Regions from separate parts of the Homo sapiens genome. Here region 2 is linked to region 1. The links are contacts of gene promoters, found by promoter capture Hi-C in blood cells and fetal thymus (Javierre and others, 2016). All regions are on one chromosome and are shown on one strand. The core of a region is centred on a gene start or on the middle of the fragment in contact, and the rest is flanking DNA. Distances in the headings are between cores, read along the strand shown.

Evidence for each region. The method cuts DNA at HindIII sites, captures the fragments that hold promoters and counts their contacts. A CHiCAGO score of 5 or more calls a contact.
Region 2: a contact is called between a fragment that was not itself captured here and the fragment with the promoter of CCDC116 in region 1, in 2 of 17 cell types (neutrophils and erythroblasts). The highest score is 6.4, in neutrophils.

What each region holds. Positions count from the first base shown.
Region 1 is chr22:21,631,213-21,636,425 of GRCh38, forward strand. CCDC116 (coiled-coil domain containing 116) reads left to right here and starts at 1,548. Exons shown (of 5, transcript NM_152612.3): 1 at 1,548-1,615; 2 at 1,908-2,041; 3 at 2,810-3,358; 4 at 3,473-4,054. The coding sequence starts at 1,970. RefSeq lists an enhancer at 1,280-1,779. The HindIII fragment of the contact is 2,744 bases long and covers 1-2,567 here.
Region 2 is chr22:21,942,800-21,948,158 of GRCh38, forward strand. It overlaps PPM1F (protein phosphatase, Mg2+/Mn2+ dependent 1F), which reads right to left. Exons shown (of 8, transcript NM_014634.4): 2 at 3,044-3,309. The coding sequence starts at 3,249. PPM1F-AS1 (PPM1F antisense RNA 1) reads left to right here. Exons shown (of 2, transcript NR_147620.1): 2 at 1-635. Among named protein-coding and RNA genes, the nearest start is that of PPM1F-AS1, 7.2 kb to the left of the region's middle. RefSeq lists an enhancer at 1,136-1,635. The HindIII fragment of the contact is 7,682 bases long and covers 1-5,359 here.

The sequences.
Region 1 (5,213 bases), core at 298-2,797:
TGTGGTCCTGCCAGGAGTAGTGGAGCTAAGACTGAACCTCACACCTCGGGGCCAGCACCCAGGCCTGCTATGTCCTCTCTGTCCCTGACCTAGTGGGTAGCCAGAGCTGAGAGGACAGAGCAGAGCTTGAGAGGAACAATATTTCGTGAGGCATGTGAGGATTGAAAGCCTCATAGAGTCCTTCAGCCATGCTCTTGGCATAAGGACTGATGTGTTTATAGTGACTGGTGAATTGTCAGACCTCAACCAACCACCGTTCTCCACTGGAAGCTGATCTTGGAAAGGTCAGAGGTCCCGAGGGTCTGCAGGTGGGAAGGAGGAGACTGACATTTATTGAGCACCTACTTGGTGCCAGACACTGAAAGTATTAGAGATTAAGGGTGACTTGCCTCTGTTCTGGCCCCAAAGAAGCACCATCTGATAGAAAAATAAGTAGCAACATGGTATGGTAGAGTCTGGAATGGGGTTTACTGTGAATTGCGTAGGGCGTGGCAGAATTCACAGTAAAAGGTTTTTGGAAGAAGTGACACCATGGTGGGGTATTACTGAGCAAAGGGGAAAAGGAGGGAGGGAGAGGAGGTAAGAATATACAAGGCTCCGCTGGGCGCGGTGGCTCAGGTCTGTAATCCCAGCACTTTGGGAGGCCAAGGCAGGCGGATCACAAGATCAGGGAATCGAGACCATCCTAGCTAACACGGTGAAACCCCATCTCTACTAAAACTACAAAAAAATTAGCCGGGCGTGGTGGCGGGCCCCTGTAATCCCAGCTGCTCGGGAGGCTGAGGCAGGAGAATGGCGTGAACACGGGAGGCGGAGCTTGCAGTCAGCCGAGATTGCGCCACTGCACTCCAGCCTGGGCGACTGAGCGAGACTCCCGTCTCCAAATAAATAAATTAATTAATTAAAGAATACACAAGGCTCCACTGGGTTACTGGGTGTGCTGTAGGGAGATTTTATTGAATCCCATACTCCCATATTGGAAGAACACTCAAGCCCATTTACAGTGTGGGACTAATGCTGAGAGGTTGAGTCACATTGGCAGGAAAGAGCAGAGCCAGGAACTGAAGCTAGGTCTGTGACTTAGAGCCGGCACTCTTTCCACTGCAGAGGGGAGAGGTCTCAAGGCAGAACCTGGGGCTGTGCACACCGCGGGAAGGGCAGAGGCCCCTGGAAACGAACAGGAGCAGGAGGCCCAGGGCTGCGCAGCAACCAAGGAGGACACGAGGAAGGTGCTTGTGCCACCGGTGGAAGACGTGGCTTTGGCTTTTAGGCTCCCCTCGGGGCAGGAGCAGATCAAAGAGCCTAGCCCCAGCTTCGGTGGTGGGTGGGGGGTCCTCCCGGCAGCGGGGAGCGTGGGCACCAGCATCCTCAGCCTGCGGCTCCCAGGCGAGTGTGGGAGGGCAGAGCCCAGAGAATTGGAGGTGGGGCCAATGTGGGCCCCGCCCCCAACCATTGTGTCGGAGAGGGAAGTGGACGAGCTCCTCGGTAAGAACCAATGAGGATGTGGTATGCAAATAAGCAAGTGGAGGCCGCCAGCCGACTTCCTCGCACTGTGCAGCTGCTCCAGTGAGGGCGCAGACTGTACTGGCCTGTGCGGAGCAAGGCGGTGTTTCTGGTGAGTCTGTTGATTCTGGGCTGGGGTGAAAGCCAGGTTGCCCAGGGTTTGGGAGGAGGGCGGGTCGAGCACACGCAGATCCAAAGATGATCGGAGACAGGATTGTCCTCAGCGATTCCACCCCGATGACTCTGGAAACTGCCTGCCTGCAGACGCATGGGGGCCATGGAGCAGAGGAAGGGCTGGATGCATGAAGGAGGCGGGGTGCGGGGAGCGAGGGACCCGCAGACTCCAGGGCCACAGATGCGTGGACCTATTGGAGACCCTCAGGTTGTCTCCCCACCCCACGCAGAGAGGAATGCGCAGCTGAAGAGAGAGGTGGGCAGCAGGCCCGGTCACCTGCCAGGTGACCACATGGCCAGGTGCCGCCACCACTCGGGTTACCTGGCCGATGACGAGGCCAGCCACTCCATGTGCAGTGCACGGGTAAGTGTGCCCAGCAGGGCGCCGACCCTTGAGGCCACAACATGTTCCCCACCAACCCTGGCACCCAAGACCACAACCCCCATTTCTCATTGTCTATTGACTTCTCTGGGCCTCTTAGTGAAGTCCTTATTGCCTTGACTTCTCCTATGTCCCCCACTGCTTGCCCCTGTCACACTCAATTTCATTCCTTGTTTCCTCCTGACTTCCAGCGACCCAGAAGGTGCTTGGGTGGACTGGGACCCTAGAGTGGGAGCATGGAGTTGACTAGGTGCCTATGGCTCAAGTTGGAGAAACAGGCCCGGGTAGCACAGGGCTCAAGACCTCAGGTGTTGTCTGCACTCAAGACCTCAGATGTTGTTTGCAGCCCTGCCATGGATACAGGGATGGCCTGCTGCATGGACAGATGAGGAGCTGGAGGGAGACTCCGAGAGATTCATGATTGCTCATCCTGCCACGTGTCAGGGCAGAAGCAGGCTTGCAGACTCCTTAGCCAGGACTTGTGTGTGTGAAATGTAGGTGTTAGGAAAGCTTCGGGGTGACCCTGAATAGACCTCCACTTTGCAGATGAGGACATTGGACCTCAAGAGGGGCCATCTTGCACACTGGCATCAGGCTGTAGGTGGCAGAGCCAGGGTCCAAACCCAGGGCTTCCAGACTCCAAAATGCAGCTCCTTCCACTACTCACTCCCACCCAGGTCCTAGTGTTACCCCAGGGAACCCTTCACCTGTAGGGCACCCCTGCCCCCTGTGACATACCTGTCTGCTCAGGTGCAGCTGCCCAAGAAGCCACTGGTCCCAGAAATGCGGCCAGCCTGCAAGCCGGGCCGTGTGCCACACCCACCATCCACATGTGGCAGCTCAGCACTCCAGGGCCAACGCCGAAACAAGAGGCACCCTCAGCCCTTTGGCCACTTTCTGGATTTCCTAACTGAGAGCCAGGTCCTGGACAGCCTGGAGACAGTGGTGGAGAAGGCGACTGAGCGCATGGCTGCCATGAAGACGGAGGCTGGGGTGCCGCTTGTGGAGGTGCAGGACCCAGTGGAGGTGCCAAGTGGTGGACGGCGGGCACATGCCCGGCCCAGCCTCAGCACCGTACACCGGCACCGTGTACGGCCGACCCTCTGCACTGGACACCCCAACAACTACCCATCCAGCTCCAGCTCCATGTCCAACTGCCATAGCAGCCTCATGGCCGGCTGTCTGGGCTCCCACAGCCGGGACAGTGACCTAGGTGCCCAAGGCTCATTGCCACCTGTGAGGGACAAACTCCTGCTGGAGAAGAACCTCAAGCGGCTGCTACAGCTGGAGAGGGAAGGGGTGAGAGCCAGGGCCATGGCTGGGTGGGGTGGACTCCCATGGAGAGCCCAGGGCTAGGGTCAGCCCTGGCTTGGCTGCTCCTGAACACTTCACAGAGTCACCCTCTTTCTGCAGAAAGGCCTCAGTCAGTCCTGCTCCCAGAGGGACTCCCTGCTGTGGGATTCGCTGGGTAGCCAGACCAGCTTTCAGTGGACACAGGAGCAGCCCTTGTCCTGGTTCTCAGGGCTGCTGGGCTCAAGCTCTGGCGTGCCTGAAGCATCAGAGCCGAGGCCTGGAGAACAGGAGCCAATCTTCCGCAAGCGAGAGTTCAATAAGGAGATCAAGTCATTACTGAGCCAGCTGGAGTCCCTCGACCTGCCTGGCTACTGTCCGCTCCGTGAGCCCCATCGCACGCTGAACTTCCTGGCTGACCACCGCCTCTTCCCTGCCCTGCAAAGCGTGGTCAGCCAGGCTGTGGATAAGCTCCGTGGCGCCCACTGCCGCGACGGCCGTCCTCTGTTCCCCACCAGCTTGGAGCCCACCTCAGATCTGCCGCCTCTGGGCTCTGAGCCAGCTAAACCCACCAATGGCGGGCAGCCCTATGCTTCCCCCCGCCCCACAGTCTCCAGCCCCAAGATGCTTCAGAGAAAACGCAAGGACAGAGGAGGCTCCCCCTCCATGTCTAGTGCCCAGGTGGCCACCAGATTCAAACTCAAGGTGACACCCACGGAGAAGCCCAATGTCCCCAGCCCCTCACTCCACTCCAGGGAGGAGGCACCTGACTCAGATCCCAAATTACAAAACCCACCTGTTTCCCTGAGCTCCAGCCAGAGGGCCCAGCCCTGGCAGGGCCTGCACCTCACCCTGCCCACGCCAGGGATTGTGGTGGAGGTGGCCTGCAGCCAGGGCCACCTCAGGGGCCCTGTCACACCTCCACTTTCCTCCCCCTACCCCCGCTCTTCCTGCTACCTTCTCCCTGAGCTCTCTCCAGTTGCCTCTTCATCTCCCGCCTCACTGTGTCCAGAGGTGACCTCCTCAAAAGTAGGACCGGGCATGAGTTTGCAGGAGAAGGGCTCCTTGACCCACCACTCCTAGCAGCCACTGTCACTAACAGGTGCTCAAGGTCAAGGTCTCTTGCCCTGCACTGTGGAAACCTCCTGGGCAGGGGTCAAGCTGATGGGGGCCCATGAATCCTGGCCTAGCTATTACCAGGTGTTGTCACAGATAAATAAAGGCTATTTTTTATGCTGGGTATTTTTTCTAACGTTTGTATGTGAATCTAGAGACGCTCCTACATGGGGGTGGAAAGTCCCGTCCCTTGTGGACAGCAGCCCAAGCCCAGCCGGGGCCTTGCCTCCTAGGTCTAGCTCCCTTGAATCCAGCTGCCTCGAGCAGGACTCTCCAGTCCCTGGACTTTGCTGAGGGGAAGTTGCCCAGGGAGGATGTGTACAAGACGTAGGTGGCCTCACACTGGTGGGTCTCCAGCACGGTCCCTCGACCCTTTCCTCAGCCATCAAGGCCCCTGCAGCTGTCTCTGGGCACAGGCCTGGGCAGGAGCCTGCCCAAACCCAGTTGTCAAGGCTCAGATTAGCCTTACCCTGTGACAGGTCCCTGCCCTTGCCCCAGGCCCAACAGTTGTAGGAGGTGTGATGGCGAGGTGAGCATGAGAGTGGGCAGTTGAGTGCAACAGCATAGCAGGTGTGGTAAGGCTGTACCCTTCGTGTGGCAAATGTGTTTGTCACACTAAGGGTACCCATTCATGTTTGTGATGGGCAGGGCTGGCAGGGCTCTGAGGAGGGCACAGTGGCTGGAAGGGGTGTCACAGAGGGATGGGGCTGGCAGGTGTGACATGTGTCCCTTTCCCTCCCCGGCTGCT
Region 2 (5,359 bases), core at 651-3,150, 310 kb after region 1:
CTGCACCATGCAGATCCACCCTGATTCTGGTCCCTGCAGAGCAGGCTCCTACACAAGGCAAGAAGATGCTCCAGGGACAAGCCAAGGTGTATGCAAGGCCCAGGTGCCTGAGAAACACGTCTCACCGACCTTGGGGCAGGGGCTGTTACAAGAGGCTTATAGTCTAGTGGCAGAGACAAAAACCACACTCAAATCATTAGTGTACGGTATGCACTGCTCAGGGACTCAAATATGTGACAGGAGGCTCCAAACAAGAGCGGAGACAAGGCGTAAATAGCCCCCTGTGGACTGGATGTTCTGACTCCTGGATGGCCTCCAGAAGGATGCCTTTTACGGTCTGTGAAAGAGCTCAGGGACCAAGATGCTCAAAGCCCTTCATGCCCAAGAGCCCCTCCTCAGGCTGGGACACGGGAAGCAGAGCTCGGAGGTGGAACTCGTGACTGTGTATGGGCACATGTGAGTGCGTGTGTGTGGACAGCCAGGCTTAGTGTAGACAACGTGTGAGGCTCAGACCCCAAGTGCTGACTACACCTATGCACATCCACACCTGCGTGTGAAAGAAGATGCTAGAAAAGAACAAAAATAACTTAAAAAATAAATCCAATAAGATGGCTGGAACATATAACAACTTCAAATACTCCATTTTAGTTCACCATGTAAGGTGGGTTCCTGGGGGCTGAGGAGACTCGGGAGCTCTGCACCCCTCCTGCTCGCACCCATCACTAGGTGGCTCACACAGCAGCCGCTCAACAAGTCTGGCTGCTCTCGCATCAAAACCAAAACCCACTGCCCTCCCCTGCGCCCCCAGCACTGACCCCAACACTTTGGTTCGGGGCCCTCCTGGGCAGGTCACCTGCACTGCCTACTCACTCCTCAGCCCTCCAGGCCCTCCCACCTTGGATCCTTCCCTGGGACCCTGCTCTGCGCCCTTCTCCCCCTGCCCAGGAACTGAAGGCTGATGTTGTCACCCCGGTGCTGCGGCCTGTCCGTCTTCAGCACCTGTGCCCCACGCAGGCCCAGCAAACCCCTGGGCTCTGTTGTTCCCCGGGATGGCTTTTCCATCTGATCCCCAGCTTGGGGCTGGCACCGCTTGGCTTTGCCCGGTCACCTCATGCTTGGGCCAAAGTGCACCAACCCTTCTGTCCCGGGCCTGGCTTTTTGCCTCAAGGCAGCAATGGCCCCATGCCACCTCCACGAAGACCCAGTGGCTGCAGAACTCCCTGGTCTGGACTCCCCTGCTCCCTGCAGAGTGCCACCTGCTCCTCTCAAGAAGGCAGAACGTGAGGCCTTTCCTCACCTCCCGTGCATTGGCACCCCTGCTGGGCCCACTCTGCTCCACCACTGGGGGCTGATTCACTTTGTGCCACATATCTAAAATATTTCCTCAAAACAAGCCAATAACACCCTTTGCGCATGCCATGACCTCATGGAGCGTGGTCACCGGACATTTCCTCCTGAGCTCTAGGCAGCTGTGGGGGATGCTGGGTGGCATAGCCCTTGCATGTGGCTGACACTTAGCAATGTTTGTGCCCATGTTGCACAGGGAGAGCACAAGTCACTGACTCTGCTAGGGCCTGGGGTCAAGGAAAATAGGCCCTTGGTGGGTGTCAGGAACAGAGTTGATTCGCTGCAAGGGGCAAAGGAAGTGCACACTTGGGGGATACTGAGGCAGCCACCGAGGATGGTGGCTCTGTCAGAGGGAGCTATGGCTGAGGGCCTGTCATGGCTTCAGGTGATATTTCAGGTGATTTGGGTGATGCTGGGACTGGGGACCATGCGCACATCCCCTCAGCAAGGGACTAGGTTCACAGAAACAGCACGCGGCCCACCAGCCTGCTCACCTCCATGAGCTGTCCCCTGTGCCAGACAGACAGCCTAACTCCAAGACCCTGTCTGAGCAGAGAGGGTTCGAGAAAAGACCTTGTCCTTCACCATCTTTCATGGGACAAATGCTTCCAGAATGAATGAATAAATGAAGGGGAGGGCAAGGGTCTTCCAAGGAAAGGACCTCTGAGTTCAGCCTAGGCGACAGCTACACACTGTCTGCCGGTGGACACCCAACTCTCTATCTTCCCCGAAATCTGCTCGGCTAGTTGTGCTACCTCTCTGTGCCTCAGCTTCCTCACCTGTGGAAGGGGGACAGTGCCAGCTATCTCTCAGATCGTGGTGGCTGGGGTGCCATGTGGCTCTGCCACTCCTTGACTGTAAGGCCTCAGGCCAGCCTCTTCATCTACCCACCTCTGCCTCCTCGTCCATCACACGGATCGGAAACAGGACGTACTGCTTATCAGCTGCTATGCAATAAATTGTGTTCCCTAAAAGGTATGTTGAAGCCCCAGCCCCCTGTGGCTCAGAATATGATCTTATTTGGAGTTAAAGTCTTTGCAAATGTAATTAGTTATGTTCACATGAGGTCACATTGGCTGGAGTGGCTCATGCCTGTAATCCCAGCATTTAGGGAGGCAAAAACATGAGGATCCATGGAGCCCAGAAATTCGAGACCAGCCTGGGCAGCATAGCGAGACCCCATTCTCCACAAAAAGAAAGATGAGATCACACTGTAGGAGGGCAGCCCCTGGTCCAAAATGCCCATGTCCTTACAAGAGGAGGAGTCACAGACACACAGCAGGCAGGGTGGGGAGGTGTGAAGGCACAGACACACACATGGGGAGATGCCGTGTGCAACAAGGCCAGCTAGGAGGAATGAGTCTACAAGCCAAGGACCTCCAGGAAGTCAAGGCCAGGCACTAACAGAAAGGCAGACTCTTCCCTGCAGCCTTTGAGAGAGCATGGCGCAGCTGCCACCTTGATCTTGGACTCTGGCCTCCAGCCCTGTGAAAGAATGAGCTTTGGCTGTGTTGAGTGCCCAGTGTGTGGTGCTTTGCCATAGCAGCCACGGGAGTTCCACATGGTGCTGCATAGGGATCCGGGGCTGCAGATCCCCGTGTGGGGCTGGACGTGTAGGGGAGCAGCAGCCACATCCCTTGTCGGCCCTGGTGCCGTGCCCTTACTCCCCGTCCCCTTTGGGGGTGCACAGGCCTACCTGCTGCCCAGAAAGCCCATGGCCAGCTCAGCCAGCTCGCCCTCCACCTCCTCCTGGCTGAGCACCGTCCCTGGGGCCTTCCATGGCAGAGGGTCCTCTGGGTTCAGCAGGGCTGGGAAGTCTTGCAGGAGCGTGTCCAGGAAGCCTGGGGTCTCCTCAGCTCCACTGGCCATTGGGCTGCTCTTCTGTGGGGCTCCAGAGGACATGCCCAAAGCATCCCGGGGGCCTGCAGCTAGGCCAGGGCAAGAGGGTCTCCAGGCTTCACCCTGGGGAGAAATGTCAGAGTCAGCAGAATCAGGGGGCCATGGCACCAGCAATGCAGGTGCCCACCTGCAAGCACCATGTGGCAGGTGCATGGCCTCATGGTTCAGGGCCACTAGAGGGTGGAGGGACAACCCTGGCCACTGTTTTGACATGAGTCCAGGTGGGGACTTGTGGGCATCCAGAGATCCGGTCTCAGGAGATGGTGCCAGGAGCAGCAGCTGGGTGGACATTGTCAAGAAGTGACAGAGGAGGAAGACTGTTCCTGGCAGAGGGTGGCCAGCGTGGCCAGAGACGAGCAGGACAGGGATGCCGAGGCCAGGCACTGAGGTAGGTGAGGGGGTTCAACCTGATCACGGGTCCCGAGCAGCCAGGAGGGCTCTGAGGTGAGGGAGTGAAGCCACCAGGTCTGTGAGCCTGGACGTGGTGACCAGATGGCAGGAGGGACACCTGTTGGGGCTCTAGTGGTGTTCAGGGGAGGAAAGAGAAGGGCCAAGATGCGGGAGGCCGGCCCAGGGCTGTTTTGGAGATAGGCCAGAGTGGGAGCAGGAAGGGATCCCCAGAGGCTGCTGGGGCCACCCAAGGGGTGGCCAGGAGAGAAGCAGAGGTTTAATCTGGGACAGACAGGAGGTGCTGTGGGACACCATCGAGCCTATTCAATGCTCTCTAATAGGAGGAGGGAATTGTGAGCCTAGAATGGCTCAGGCCTGCTAAGCCCTGGCTGGAAGAGGGGCACTGTGGACAGTTCCAGGCGCTGACCCCACTGTGCGGCATGTGGGCTCTTCCTCCCTAAGTCCTTAGGGATGACCAGAGCTGACCAGCCCTGGGAGTTGCCCCTAACACCCCAGGAGCCAGGACAAGCCCCCATTTCACAGATGAGAATCCCAAGGTTTGGAGAGGGTTAGTCCCTCGCCTGAGGTGTCAGAAGGAAGACAGGGCCAAAGAGGGATCGCAAAGCCTGTGCCTTCACTCCCTCACCGGCTTCTCTCTCACTGGAAAGAGGCACATGGTGCCTCACAGCCTCCTCCCAGGGTGGCTCTGGCTCCTCTTCTCTCCTAACTCCGAATCTCCATAGTCGCCTCCCCAGCCTGCCTGCCTTGCCTATACCCAAACAGCTCTCCAGCGCCCCCCCTTCCATGTTCTTTGCGTCGCCCCGGGGATTCACCTCCAGGCCCCACACCTGGGCCTCCCTGCCAGCACCCACTCAGCATGGACCCTTCTCTCTCCTGCCCCCTTCCTCTCGGGTGCCTGACCCCTCCAAACCCTCCCCACAGCGGGGACTCCACCTTGGGCTTTGTCTAACACTCAGGCTGGGAAACTTTATTCAGCGAGTCCTACGCAGTAGTGGATGAGATTGGATCCAGAAAAAAATAAAAAAGAAATCCTACACAGTTACTAAGCCAGGGAGAAAAACTGCATTCTTTTATGGTGACAAACGGACATGAGACTCTGAGGAACACCCCGAGTTCTAGGGTGGAGAATTTGGGGAACAGTTTCACAGCCCATCACCTTCATGAGGACTTCCAGGTTCTGAAAACTGAACGAAGAAGGCAAGGAGAATCTTCTAGAATCATCAGTCTTAGAATAGCCACAGACTCTGCCTACAAACTTTGCTAAAAGGGCGGCTGTGGCAGGGGCCTGAGGTGCAGGATGAAGAGAGTGGGAAGTAAGAGATGCAGGGAGCTCACAGCCCACAAGAGGGCTGTCCTTATCAGGAATTGCTAACTTGGAACAAGCCTTCTGGAAGCCTAAAGATAAAAAACACAAAAGAGAATGGGGTGGGCAGAGGGAAAGGTCCCAGCACCAAGTTAAATGTCTGATCAGTGAGGGATTTGGAATGCAAGGGGTGAAGGGTGGTAAATTAACAAAACACAAAACCCTTCTCTTCTTTTAGAGGCAGAATTGAAAGGTAATTTATTTAAAGTGGACACATACAAATAACGTAGGAATAGGGGTGCTTGCTACTGAAGGTTCTGGGGATAGACTAAATTTATTGCTATGGTTCACATTTACTCACAAGTAGGAGTAAATTTAATGCAACCCAGGTTACAGAAG